Regions from separate parts of the Homo sapiens genome. Here region 2 is linked to region 1. Evidence: promoter capture Hi-C in 16 types of primary human blood cells and fetal thymus (Javierre and others, 2016). All regions are on one chromosome and are shown on one strand. The core of a region is centred on a gene start or on the middle of the fragment in contact, and the rest is flanking DNA. Distances in the headings are between cores, read along the strand shown. Region 1 holds the start of SOX18 (SRY-box transcription factor 18). Region 2 overlaps GMEB2 (glucocorticoid modulatory element binding protein 2).

Region 1 (7,030 bases), core at 1,132-3,631:
TCACCCCACACCCAGGCAGACAGACAGACACAGGCCACACACAGATGCACAGACACACATCGGATGCCCCTCCCTCAGCACAGCTGGCCACACCCACACCATCCCCTCTACAGCCCTGGCAAGTCCCCCCAGCCCTGCGGCTCCAGATCACGCCACCCTGGCTGTGGTCCCTACCCCCACTTTGTCCCATCTGGACACTGGGCCAGGGCTGCCAGCCTCCTCCCTGCCACGCAGAGGGAGAGGAGCACCTCAGGAGGCTCCCCGCCCAGCCCCGACTCACAGGACATGACAGCCGGACACCTGAGTCCACAGCCCAGCCAAGAGGGTGGGTCACTGGCTGGCGCCAGGCAAGGCGGCTGCTGGTGGGTGTTGTGGGGGACGTGGAGGCGATGAGGTCATGCCGGACACTGCCTGCCACTATGTTTAGAGCAGCTCCAGTGACTCTGGGCTCTCGGGGGTGGCAGAGGACCAAGCAGGGCCCCCAGGGAACTGCAAATCCTTCCCCACGTGTGAGGGCTACTGCAGAGGACCCCGAGGACCTCTTTCCCAGGCCGCAGTGACCAGCCACTGCCCAGGCTGAGCCAGGCCCTGGTGACCCCTGACTGCAACCCTAAGGTTGTGAGTAGAGAGAGCTTCCGCCAAGTGGTAGCCCTTTGGGGTCTTCGCACGGCTCCCCACCCCCCCTGCACCCTCCTGCCAGCTGCCCAGGAGGCCCACCCACACTGAGACTCGGCCAAGGGTCCAGCCACCCATACTGAGATTAAAGGAGGACTAGCAGCATCCGGCAGAGGCCTGTGAGCCCCTCCATCCCTGTGGCCACAACCCTGCCTGCCTCCCCAGAAAAGCCAGGGGCCGCACCTCCTGGTGCCCCACGGGCCCCCCATTAGCCAGCACTGGCTCAGTGTCTGTGAACGAGGTGCTAGGCCCGTGGGGCAAACTGGAGGGACGGGAGATCTGGAGACCAGACTGGGAGACCCAGCCCCGTATGCTGGGACGATGGGCGTCGAGACAGACTGTGATGTGGGGCTTTGGGGAGGGCTGGACACCGACCGCGACAGCCCTCGGTGGGAGTGCCCCTGTGGGGGTGCTGGCCTCAGGGCAGGAGTGCCCCTGGGGACAGTTCAGGAACAGCCTCTAAGGGGCACTGCAAGGCCCACGTGGGGCCCACCCCATTCATAACACAGGCTGGATGTGGCCTAGCGAGGCTGGCAGGGACAGAGAACCAAGAGCTTCTGGCCACACAGGCTCAGGGTCACAAGACCTGTGGCCTCTACCCATGGGGCTCCCGGCATAGTGTGGCGGGGGGAGCTGGGGAGCCTCCAGGCTATGAGGAGATGTGCCGCGAGGTGGCGAGATTCTGACCCTGCCTGGAGGGCTGCTGGGGACACCCAACCCTTCTCCAGTAGAACCATGCGTGGCAGTGGGAGGGGAGGACCTCCAGAGGGAGACCCTCAGCTCTGGAGCCCAGATCCCCTCCTGATGGAGTAGGAAGGGGACAGTGAAAATTCAGGAAGCTGGACGCTCCTCCGGAACCCGCCCCCGCCCAGGTCAGAGGGTCCAGGGAGGGGCCAGTGGGAAGGACCCAGGTAGGCCCTGCCTCTTGCTGCAGCGGTGGCCTGGGCTGGGCAGGGGAGCCAGCAAGCCACTGAGGGTCCCAGCCCCTTCCCCAAGGGCCCTTGGGGGGCAGGGAGGACGCCACAGCCTCTGCGTCCCTGCTCCCCCTTCTCTTTGTGGGCTCCGTCCAGGGCCTCTGCTCTCTCCCTCCCTGTGTCAGCTTTGCCTTGTGCCAGAGTTGGTTTGGGAGTGAGGACAGAAGACCATCTTGTCCCATAAAGGCACTCAAAGTCCCTGGTGCTGACGGTTACACATGGGTGTAGAGTTTCCAGCATGGGCGCCCCTGGGGACTCAGAGCGCCTCCCCAAAGACGGGGCCTTTTCTGAAGGCGCTGCACTCCAGGAAGGACTTACCGGCTGTTGGGAAGGCAGCCTCCCCAGAACTTGGTGTGAAAAAGGGCCCTCTCCTCCCCATGGAGCCTCCCAGCGGGGGGCGGGGAACGGCAACCAGCGGGACACTGCCGCCCTCCCCCAGTTACTGCCCGGGGGTCCGACTCCGTGGGTGGGTGGCAGCTCGCCTCCGAAAGTCTGGCAGCACCGGCCCTCATCAGCAGCCCTTTCTTTCCCACCCGGGGGGTCTCTCCTTCTGAGAGGTCGCGGGGGAGGTGGGGGGGCTGTGCGCGGGGGAGGCCTCAGCGGAATCCCGCCCGGCCTGAGAAGAAAGGGAGCCCCCGGGGAGGAGGCGGCCCCGACCCGCCCCCGCCCGCCCGCCCCGCCGCCGATTGGCCCTGAGCCGCTATATCTGGGCGCCCGCCCGGCCCGAGGCCACCGCCGTCCCCACCGCCATCCGCCCTCCCGGCCTGGCCTGCCCTTGCGCCCGGCTCCCCAGTGCCCGCCGCCCGCCCGCCGCGCTCCCGCGCTCCGTTCCGCCCAGGCCGCGCCCAGCTGGAATGCAGAGATCGCCGCCCGGCTACGGCGCACAGGACGACCCGCCCGCCCGCCGCGACTGTGCATGGGCCCCGGGACACGGGGCCGCCGCTGACACGCGCGGCCTCGCCGCCGGCCCCGCCGCCCTCGCCGCGCCCGCCGCGCCCGCCTCGCCGCCCAGCCCGCAGCGCAGTCCCCCGCGCAGCCCCGAGCCGGGGCGCTATGGCCTCAGCCCGGCCGGCCGCGGGGAACGCCAGGCGGCAGACGAGTCGCGCATCCGGCGGCCCATGAACGCCTTCATGGTGTGGGCAAAGGACGAGCGCAAGCGGCTGGCTCAGCAGAACCCGGACCTGCACAACGCGGTGCTCAGCAAGATGCTGGGTGAGCGGCGGGAGGGCGGCAGAGAAGGGGGAGAGGGCGGGGGGGGCTCGGGCCGGGGTGGGGCGGGGGGGGCAGGGGTCCCGGGCCGCGGGGTGCGGGGGCTGCGCCAAACCCTCGCGGGGCGTCCCGGGCGCACGGAGGGCTCGGCGCCCACCCGCCCGACGGCGTTCCACTCACTGGCGCCCACGGCCCGCAGGCAAAGCGTGGAAGGAGCTGAACGCGGCGGAGAAGCGGCCCTTCGTGGAGGAAGCCGAACGGCTGCGCGTGCAGCACTTGCGCGACCACCCCAACTACAAGTACCGGCCGCGCCGCAAGAAGCAGGCGCGCAAGGCCCGGCGGCTGGAGCCCGGCCTCCTGCTCCCGGGATTAGCGCCCCCGCAGCCACCGCCCGAGCCTTTCCCCGCGGCGTCTGGCTCGGCTCGCGCCTTCCGCGAGCTGCCCCCGCTGGGCGCCGAGTTCGACGGCCTGGGGCTGCCCACGCCCGAGCGCTCGCCTCTGGACGGCCTGGAGCCCGGCGAGGCTGCCTTCTTCCCACCGCCCGCGGCGCCCGAGGACTGCGCGCTGCGGCCCTTCCGCGCGCCCTACGCGCCCACCGAGTTGTCGCGGGACCCCGGCGGTTGCTACGGGGCTCCCCTGGCGGAGGCGCTCAGGACCGCGCCCCCCGCGGCGCCGCTCGCTGGCCTGTACTACGGCACCCTGGGCACGCCCGGCCCGTACCCCGGCCCGCTGTCGCCGCCGCCCGAGGCCCCGCCGCTGGAGAGCGCCGAGCCGCTGGGGCCCGCCGCCGATCTGTGGGCCGACGTGGACCTCACCGAGTTCGACCAGTACCTCAACTGCAGCCGGACTCGGCCCGACGCCCCCGGGCTCCCGTACCACGTGGCACTGGCCAAACTGGGCCCGCGCGCCATGTCCTGCCCAGAGGAGAGCAGCCTGATCTCCGCGCTGTCGGACGCCAGCAGCGCGGTCTATTACAGCGCGTGCATCTCCGGCTAGGCCGCCGGCGCCGCCCGGGTCCCTGCAGCGCTTCCTCCCGCAGCCCCCGCGACCGATCCGACCGCGTCGCTGCCGCTCTGCTCTCTCATACGCGTGTATGTTTGGTTCCATGTCACAGCCCCCTAGGAGCCAGTGATGCTCGGCCTTGCGCCCGTTCCACCTCCCAGGCCACCCTTCCTGGGCTTCTGGGCCACCTGCCCTCGGGGGGCCCCTGCGAGGGTGCCTGGAGTTCCCACGTGTCCCGGGGCTTTTCCAGGAAGCCCGAGCCCAGGACCTGTTGGCAGAGTTGCCAGGGTTACATTTTTGAAGCACCTGCTCCTTTTCTTGCAGTGTATTTTCTACAACCAGATTGTATTAATATTTTTTACTTTGCCCTTTTAAAAAATATACCTAATACAATATATTTAATTTTTAATTAAACTCTTAAACTTTTCTTCCAAGAAGTTTCAGTGATCAGAAGCGTCACTGTGGCAAAGACTTTTGCAATGTGAGGAATACAGATGTTTGCTTTCTATAAAGGAGGAGCCTGGAGCTGGGTCCCCGGACGGAGAGGCCACAATAAATCCTCGGGCCTTTCCTCTGCACACTGACATCTGTGGTGTTTGCAGGGAGGGAAAAGCAGTTCCCCAAATAGCCCTGGACGCCCCTTCCCTCCGAATCGCCCCCAGGGAGCCTGACTCCTAGCTTGAACCTCATAGCACTCCTTCATCCTTCCGTGACACATCCCAGAGAGCGTGGGTAGCAGGCATGGGTCCACACTCCCCCCCAGCCCTCCACTCCCCTCCTGTCCCACCCCCAGGTTAACTCAAGCCTATCGGAGGTCAGACTATACCAGCAATCCTGTCACACCCCCGCTAGGGTTTCATCGCCCTTGCCTCCACCTTAAAACTTCCATGCCCAAGGACTGCCCAGTACGGCCCCCTTTCCTGAGGGAGGCTGGCAGGTTGGCAGCCCACATGCAGACACAGACTCCAGGGTCTCCGTCAGCTGTTCTAACTCACCCCAGGGAGGACAGCACCATGCTACACCCACAGCGCTCCCCCCACCCGGGTGACCTGTCCAGCTCTGCCCAGAGACAGGTCCGATGGCCAAGGCAGGAGAGCACAGGCTTCACATCCCAAGACCCCCCAACTCTGGAGTCGTATCTCACTAGCCCCCAGGAGGACTGGACACCCTCTTTCTTTTTCTTTCTCTCTCTTTTTTTTTTTTGAGACGGAGTCTCGCTGTGTCACCCAGGCTGGAGTGCAGTGGAGCAATCTCGGTTCACAGCAAGCTCCACCTGCTGGGTTCACACCATTCTGCTCAGCCTCCTGAGTAGCTAGGACTACAGGCGCCCACCACCACACGTGGCTAATTTGTATTTTTAGTAGAGACGGGGTTTCACCGTGTTAGCCAGGATGGTCTCGATCTCCTGACCTCGTGATCCGCCCGCCTCGGCCTCCCAAAGTGCTGGGATTACAGGTGTGAGCCCAGCGCCCGGCCTGGACACCGTCTTTCCATGCTGACCTCTTGGTCCTCTCGACCTCAAACCCACGTGTTCAGGGAAGTTTGGAGTAATCACCCCCAAAAGTGAACACCCAGACACAGACACACTCCCTAGGGCCTGGCAGGTATAAGCCAAGAGGAGGGGCATGCACCTCCCTCCTGGGGGAAGGGCATATCCTGCCCCAGCACCCCCTCTGCATAGGTGGGGAGTCGGTGGGGAGAGCTGAACCTTTACTGCCCTGGTGTGGAAACTCACTCGCGGCTCAGCCTCCCAGGTACGGGGGAGCACACGCCTCTGAGAGTGTGTCTGTGGTTCTGCATGCGTGTGAATGAGACTCCCAGTGTGGCCCTTCATGCAGGTGACAGTGTGTGTGTGGCATATGGATGTGCAGCAAGCCTGGGGCGGGATGGACATGTGCCTGCTACCTGAGTGTGTGTGTGGAGGGGGTGGGATGGGGCTATTTTACAGGTACCCTCCCCTCAAGCAGGGCATGTCACCTCTGTGTTAATCAGCATGAGTGCCACCCCTCAGATGGGCCCCCAGTAGGGGCTGCACCTGGGGCCCCTTCCCCACCCCATTGGCAGCAGAGCACACAGAACTCAAAGACAAAGGAACAGAGACACGCAGAGGGGACAGACACAGACACGCTGAAGAGGGCAGGAGACAGGCTCAGAGGTAGACAGAGATGCACCAGGCAGGCAGACACAGCCCACAGGACACCGAGGTCATCGCCCATGTCTTCCAAGCAGTCTGCCAGCACACAGCAGGGAGGCAGAGACGGTGAGACCCAAAGGGACACAAGCCACATCTGTCTTTCGGTGGAGGCGGGGGGAGGGGGGTCTCTGAGGCACCAACATGGACTCTTCCTGGGATCATACCATGAGATAAATGCTCACACCTGTGAGAATGCAAGCCACACCCAGCTCTCGTGCCCACCAACTCCTGCTCTGGCCCACCCCCTGGAGCCCTGGGGTCAGCAAGCCCAAGATGCACCCCCTTCCATGGGGACCTCAGCCAGAGGGCGACCCAGCAGCCAGAATCCGCAAGTGGCTGGCCCAGGCATGAGACCACCTGCCCCTCCCCCAACCCCCAACCAAGGCAGGAGAGACAACAGACCCAGCCTGTCCTGCTGCCTAAATTCATGTGGACAGCCCCTGCCCCCGGCCTCCAGTGCCTCCCTGTTTGGGCTGGGCATCTCCCCAGCCACGCCTTCCCCGGCAACTCCCACAGACACAGACAGCCTGGGGAGGCCACAGTGGCAGTCCCATGGCCAGCACACATCCCCTATTCTGGACTCCTCACCCCCACTGCAACCCCCTCTAGGCCAATGGGGTGGAGAGCTTGGAAGATACCTTGGGTGGCAACACAGCCTCATGGTCTGTGTGAGGAGGGGACAGAGTGGGTACCTGTGAGAAGTCCCTCCCCCAAGTGCCAGGGTGGGGGGCTAGTGAGGGGCCCGAGCTGAAGCAAGTCCCAGCCCAGAGGCTGGAAATGCCCAGGAGAAGGATCAGAAGGGGACATGAAAGAGGCTTCCACTGAGGGCACCGGGTTCCAATAGCGGCTCCTCGGCAGCGGTGGGTGGGGTCTCCTTACAGGGCCTCTCCCAGGGCCCAGCCCAGGGATCTATCTCCCCTCTACCCGCCAAAGGCTGAACAGCCCCAGGGCCTGGGTGCTCCATCCCTGGCACCAG
Region 2 (7,065 bases), core at 4,528-7,027, 470 kb after region 1:
GGGCAGAGGCATAAACAGAACCAGTCACTATGGAGGTCGAGGATTCCCATGTGGGCCCTTCAGCTTGGGCTGCTTGGCCACGGAACAGCCCTTGGCTCCCTGGCCCCCGGCCCCCATGCAGCCCCTGGGCTGGCCCTTGGTGGTCTCTGTCCAAGGGAGAGCCCCTGGGTGTTCAGGAGGCTGCCCCGGGTGGGCTGCTCAGGGCAGCTGCCGAAGGTGGAGCCCAGAGCCTGTCTGGAAGGGCTGTCTGTGGCTGTCCTGAGACCTGGCCTTGGACTCACAAGGAAGACCAGGCTGAGGCCCCTCCAGGCCAGGGTCCTGGGGCAGGCATCTCAGGGAGCAGCCAGCCCAGGCCTCCTGCCGTCTCCAACAGGGCATGTCCCGGGAGGACCCTGAGTGCCAGATTCCCCTGGACGCTCCTGCTGATTCTGTCGGCAGTTGAAGGCCCGTCTGAGGCCCCGCAATGCGAGGGTCCTGTGTCCCACTTCACTGCTCCGAAGGGAACTGGCTGGCTGTCCGTCCAGTGAGCGGCCCAGACCCCACCTCTGCGCCATTGTCACCAGGGCCCTGTCCTGGCTGCCCTCACCCATGTCAAGCTACTGAGGCTGTGTCTTGTTTGTTTTCTCTGTTACATTTTTGTTTGCTGTTGTCACAGTCAGCTGGTTTCGGCGTGATGTTGATCTTTTGATGTACATACTCCGTTTTAAACTCATTTCCACTCTAGTTGAGTTCTGCAGCATGCAGCGGTATGACCCTACGGGGGTCAGGAGAGCCCTGCGGCCCCCACCCACCAGCTCAGAACCTGTCACTAATACAGCTGCCTGTGACCCTGGGACCCGCAACCTTCCAGCTGCTTCCCTTTGTCAAAGTCACGAGTGCGTCTGCCTTGACAGCCCTCGTCAACAGAACTTCCAGTGGGTTGTGGGTTCATTTCCTTTCTTTTTAAGAACAGGGTTGGGACCTTTTCTGCCCCTGCCCCTTAGCTACTGAGGCATAGGGAGAGGAAGTTAATTTCAGAGCCATACAAAAATAAGCCACAACCAGCTTCAGAATTAATTCCCAATCCCCCATTCCACCAGGGCTGGGAGCCCATTCCCAGTGCTTCCCAAGGCCCTCGGGGACATCTACCGCCAACCCAGCTGCTTCTGGCAGGGGCTCCAAGCCCCAGCGTGGGGAAGGGCCCTGGAGAAGCCCTCATCCTCATGGGAACCACACTGCAGTGGGTGGGGAAGGTTGTTGTCAGCACCGCCCCCGGCTCCTCCAGGTCCTGCTGGCTCCTCGGGGGCAGGGTTCCCTGGACCTCCCAGTTCTGCGCCTTGGGGCCAGCCAGTACTCAGAGAGGAGGACCTTCTCAACCACGTACAGAACACGGGTTTTCATGGCTGCCTTTGGTTTGGTTTTCTGAGAAGATAGGATTGGATTGGATTTTGCAGAGGGTGAGAACTTCTCTGTGCCTGCTCAGAGGCGCCCTAGGGAAGGGCCATGTTTGAGTTTTGCTTTGTATGTTGTTTTGCAAGTATCTGCCTGGTACTTTGATTTAAAATAAAAACAATTTTCATAGTTTGAGTGTCTATCTCTTGGAATGAAGTGTGGAGAGAAATCAAGTCTATAAACACGCCCAACGCAAACAGCGCTGGCTGCCACCCCCGCCCCGGACCACTCACACCCACATGCTTCGTTCTTCCAAGTGTGGCCTGGGGGCTTCAGGACCCTTCCAGGGTGTCCCGAGGTCAAAGCTGTTTTCATCACAGCAGGTGCCCTGTGCCCTTGTCCTTCTCTCCCCAGCACGCATCGGAGTTTTCAAGAGGCCTGGTGGGAGGATCATGGCCGTTTTAGTCGTTAGTGCTACTGTAACAAAATACCGCAGGCTGGGGGGCTTGCAAGCAACAGAGGTTCATTTATGCAGTTCTGCACGCTGGCAAGTCGGAGATCAAGAGCATCAGCCGATTTGGTGCCTGGTGAGGGTTTTGAATCAGCCGATTCGGTAACTCGTGAGGGTTTTGAAGGTGTCCTGCAAATCGCTGGAGGACAATAGTAAGAACAGCCTGGGCCCCACCTTGACCCGAGGCTGGCGTCGGAGGCACCGCCGCTCACAGGTAAGGAGACCTCTCAGTGGCACAGGGGCCTGCGCCCGCCAGTCAGGAGCTCAACAGACTCACGCCCAGGGGGGCCCCTTCCTCCCCTCTCCCAGGTTCAGTCCCAGAGCCTTCTCGTCACCAACGCTGTTCCCCTCCCTGCTGCCATGGTCCACCCAAGGCCATAGGAGCCTGCACACCAGCCACAGGCCAGCCTCCCAGACTCACGGCCCAGCAAGAGGCAGACATAGAAGTCCACGCTGTGTGGTCACTGGGTGTGGTGGCTCCCGCCTGTCATCCTAGCACTTTGGGAGGCTGAGGCGGGTGGATCACCTGAGGTCAGGAGCTTGAGACCAGCCTGGCCAACATGGTGAAACCCCATCTCTACTAAAAATACAAAATTAGCTGGGCGTGGTGGCAGGTGCCTGTAATCCCAGCTACTCGGGAGACTGAGGCAGGAGAATCGCTTGAACCTGGGAGGCAGAGGTTGCAGTGAGCCGAGATTGCACCACTGCACTTCAGCCTGGGCGACCAGAGTGAAATTCTGTCTCAAAAAAAAAAAAAGTCCATGCCGCGTGGTTCCACTTAGGAAAGTTGGACACGTCCCTCAAGGCAGAATGGCATCGAAAGCCGGGTCACTGGGTGCCCTCCGGGACGGTGGCTGGAGGGGCACAGGGCGCTGGTTCCAAGAGTCCACTCTGAAACCTGCCCTTCTGCCATGGCTGCTCTTCCACGCTTGTGCCCTGCTGCAGCCCAGAGCTGATAAACGCACAGGCATGTCCTTCCAGCACACATTGGCACGGGACCACCCTCCCCACAGGTCATCTGTCAGCTCCTCAGATTCCATGTGTACAAGACAGAGCTCCTGCTTCATATTCCCTCCCATGCTCTGTCCCCATCGTGCCCCGTCGGGGAGGGGAGCACCAACACCTGCCCACAGGCTCAGCCCACCTTCCTGCAACCTCACATCCACGATGCATCCCCTTCTTGTGAGGCCAGGCCCCCTCCATCTCTCTCAGGTCGATGTAACTACCCGGTTCCCACCTCTGGCCCTTCCTACCCTCCTGCTACCCTTCCGGCTGTGACCCTTCCCATTTGCTGACACGTCCTGAGCACCCCCATCATTCCCTCTGCCCCTGGAGGGGGCTGCACCCCTCAGTATCCCACCATGATATCTCCTCCTCCTGATACTTCATGGGGTTTCAGAGGCCACAAGATACAAACCTACAAGGGGTCATGTCTTGTACCCACTGAGTGTCCCCAGGAGCCGGTGCAGCACTGGCCACTCCTCAGCTGAGGACACAGGAGTGGGGAGTGGGCTGTGGCCTGTCCAGCCCAGGGCACTCCAGAAGGCAGAGTCCCCACAGAGGGTGGAGTGCTTTGTGACATGCCACTGTTTGGATGGGCCACAGTATACCATTCAGCGACTGAGGGACATCTTGGTTTCTTCCAAGGTTTGGCAATTATGAGTAAAGCTGCTGTTAAAAACCCTCGTGCAAGTTTTTGTGTGGACCTAAGCTTTCAACTCATCTGGGTAAATACCAAGGGGTGAAACTGCTAGATTGTGTGGTAAGAATGTATTTCATTTTGTAAGAAACTACTGAAGTGTCTTCCGCCAGTGGCAGCACCATCTCGCATTCCCACCCGCAATGACTGAGATTCCTGTTGCTCCACGTCCTCACCTGCAATGACTGAGATTCCTGTTGCTCCACGTCCTCACCTGCAATGACTGAGGTTCCTGTTCCTCTACGTCCTCACCTGCAATGACTGAGGTTCCTGTTCCTCTACGTCCTCACCTGCAATGACTGAGGTTCCTGCTCCACGTCCTCACCTGCAATGACTGAGGTTCCTGCTCCACGTCCTCACCTGCAATGACTGAGGTTCCTGCTCCACGTCCTCACCTGCAATGACTGAGGTTCCTGCTCCACGTCCTCACCTGCAATGACTGAGGTTCCTGTTCCACGTCCTCACCAGCATTTGGCGTTGTCAGCGTTTTGGGTTTGGGACATTCTTTATTTTTATTTTTATTTTTTTCAAGATTGAGTCTCACTCTGCCGCCCAGGCTAGAGTGCAGTGGCACCATCTCCGCTCACTGCAACTTCCAGTCCCCGGGTTCAAGTGATTCTCCTGCCTCATCCTCCCAAGTAGCTGGGATTACGGTCGCATGCCACCACGCATGGCTAATTTTTGTATTTTTAGTAGAGACTGGATTTCGCCATGTGGCCAGGCTGGTCTTGAACTTCTGACCACAGGTGGTCCACCTGCCTCGGCCTCCCAAAGTGCTGGGATTACAGATGTGAGCCACCACGCCTCGCCCGGCTAATTTTTTTAAAAAGTGTTCATGGAGGCCGGTTGTGGTGGCTCACGCCTGTAATCCCAGCACTTTAGGAGGCTGAGGCGGGCGGATCACGAGGTCAGATCGAGACCATCCTGGCTAACACGGTGAAACCCCATCTCTACTAAAAATACAAAAAATTAGCCAGGCGTGGTTGCAGGCGCCTGTGGTCCCAGCTGCTCAGGAGGCTGAGGCAGGAGAATGGTGTGAAACCGGGGAGGCAGAGATTGCAGTGAGCCGAGATTACGCCACCGCACTCCAGCCTGGGCGACAGAGCGAGACTCCTTCTAAAAAAAAAAAAAAAATTCGTGGAGACAGGGTCTCACTCTGTTGCCCAGGCTGGTCTCGAACTCCTGGACTCAACGCAATCCTCCAGCCTCGGCCTCCCAAAGCATTGGGATTACAGGCGTGAGCCACTGCGCCTGGCCCTGGCACATTCTCACAGGTGTATGATGGTAACTCACTGTTTGGGTTTGCAGATTTCCTAATGATGTGTGATGGGAAGCACCCTTTCACAAGCTGCTGCTTTGCCTTCTCTCTGTCTCTGGTGAGGTGACTCTTCAGATCTTTTGTCTGTTTAAAAAATCGGGTTGTTCATTATTGTTGAGTTTTAAGAGTTCTTTTCATATTTTGGATAATGATCCCTTATTAGACATGTTTGTTTCTGTTTTTGAGACAGTCTTGCTCTTGTCACCCAGGCTGGAGTACAGTGGTGCGACCTCTGCTCAGTGCAACCTCTTGTTTCCCAGGTTCAAGCGATTCTCCTTCCTCAGTCCCCCGAGTAGCTGGGATTAAAGGCTTGAGCCACCATGCCTGGCTAAGTTTTTGTATTTTTAGTAGAGATGGGGTTTTGCCATGTTGCCCAGGCTGGCCTTGAACTCCTGAGCTCAGGCAATCTGCCTGCCTTGGCCTCCCAAAGTGCTGGGATTACAGGCATGAGCCACCGTGCCCGGCCTATTTTATTTATTTATTTTTGAGACGGAGTCTTGCTCTGTCATCCAGGCTGGAGTGCAGTGGCGCGATCTCAGCTCACTGCAACCTCTGCCTCCTGGGTTCAAGCAATTCTCCTGCCTCAACCTCCCGAGTAGAGTAGCTGGGACTACAGGCACGCACCACCATGTCTGGCTAATTTTTGTATTTTTAGTAGAGATGGGGTTTCACCATGTTGGCCAGGCTGGTCTTGAACTCCTGCCCTCAAGTGATCCGCCCACCTCAGCCTCTCAAAGTGCTGGGATGACAGGCCACTGCGCCCAGCCTTGGATGAGTTTTAAGCAATACAGACACATGTACCTGCTGCCTGCACCAGGCAGAGGACACTCCCCTTGTTCCCTTCTCTAGTCGGGCCTGTCCTCACAGTCACTGACCTGGTTTTTAGAATTCGTCTGTTCCTGAGCTTCATAGAAACGGAACCGCACATTTAATACTCGTCTGTGTTTGGCCTCTTTCACTGAACTGTTTCTGAGATTCCTCCATGCTTCTGTGTGGGTCGGACGTGTTCGGTTTTGGTTTTGTCTGAGTAGTGTTGTGTCGTACAGACGTTCCACGGTTTGTTTATTCAGCCGCCTGGTGATACGCATTGGAGCTGTTTTCAGTCTGGGGCTGCTGGGAATGGGGCTGCTGTGAACCGGCGGGTGTCTCTGTGTGGGCGTCAGCACGCTGGCCCCAGCAGGAGGGGCTCCCTGGCCCAGGCGTTGTGAAGAATGAAGATCCTTTTTTCATTTCTCTTGGGTAGATTTGCAGGAGTCGAACTGCTGGATCCTGAGACAGATGTTCATTTAACTGTATCGGAAATGACCGAGCTGTTTTCCAAGGTGGCTGTGCCGTCTTGTATCCCCACCAGCACCAACGGGAGCGGTGGCTGCTCCGCACCCTCCGCGGCACGAGCCGTCCTCACTCTGGACGCAGTCGGTCTGCCCGTGTGAGGTGGTTTCTCGCTGGGTCCCATTTGCGTGTCCCAGTGACTGGATGGTAAGCACCTTCTCACGTGCTTTTGGTCATTTGTATATGTTCTTGTGTGGAGTGTCTGTTCAAATATTTTGTTTGTTTTTAAAAACTGGACTTTTGAGTTTTGAGATTAAAAAAAATCTGCCTTCTAGGAGTGGTGGCTCACCCCTGTAGTCCCAACACTTTGGGAGGCCGAGGCAGGAGGATCACTTGAGGCCAGGAGTTCAAGATCAGCCTGGGCAACATAGTGAGACCCCATCTCTACAAAAAATTTTAAAATTAGCTGAGGGTGTTGGTGCATGCCTGGAGTCCCAGCTACTTGGGACGCTGAGGTCGGAGGATTGTCTGAGCCCGGAGTTCAAGGCTGCAGTGAGCTGTGATCACACCTCTGCGCTCCAGCCTGGGCAATAGAGCAAGACCGTCTCAAAGCATAATAATAATAACAAAGATAAAAACATTTTCAGTTTGCATATAGTTCATCAGATATGTGTATTTTGAATATTTTTGTCTCAACTAATAGCTTGACTTTTCATTTTTCTCACTGGTACAGACATTTTTTACTTATATAACCTTGTTTATCAATTTTTTTCTCTTATATTTCTACCTTTTATGTCTTTTTAAAGAAATATATGCCGGCTGGGTGCGGTAGCTCACGCCTGTAGTCCCAGCACTTTGGGAGGCCTAGGCGGGTGGATCACGAGGTCAGGGTCA

What was found. Contacts are between HindIII fragments. The CHiCAGO score rates a contact against its expected background, and 5 or more counts as called.
Region 2: a fragment that was not itself captured here is called in contact with the fragment with the promoter of SOX18 in region 1 in 1 of 17 cell types (total CD8 T cells); the score reaches 5.1 in total CD8 T cells.

The regions. Positions count from the first base shown.
Region 1 is chr20:64,044,990-64,052,019 of GRCh38, reverse strand. It overlaps SOX18 (SRY-box transcription factor 18), which reads left to right and starts at 2,381. Exons shown (of 2, transcript NM_018419.3): 1 at 2,381-2,861; 2 at 3,058-4,438. The coding sequence starts at 2,504. The coding sequence ends at 3,854. RefSeq lists promoters at 2,241-2,501, 1,604-2,501, 1,396-2,504, enhancers at 1,829-2,510, 5,582-6,502 and a silencer at 2,642-2,691. The HindIII fragment of the contact is 12,409 bases long and covers 1-7,030 here.
Region 2 is chr20:63,582,100-63,589,164 of GRCh38, reverse strand. GMEB2 (glucocorticoid modulatory element binding protein 2) reads left to right here. Exons shown (of 10, transcript NM_012384.5): 10 at 1-1,560. Among named protein-coding and RNA genes, the nearest start is that of HELZ2, 11 kb to the right of the region's middle. RefSeq lists enhancers at 755-924, 1,518-1,687, 5,571-6,071, 6,072-6,572 and a cis regulatory region at 1,602. The HindIII fragment of the contact is 4,364 bases long and covers 3,596-7,065 here.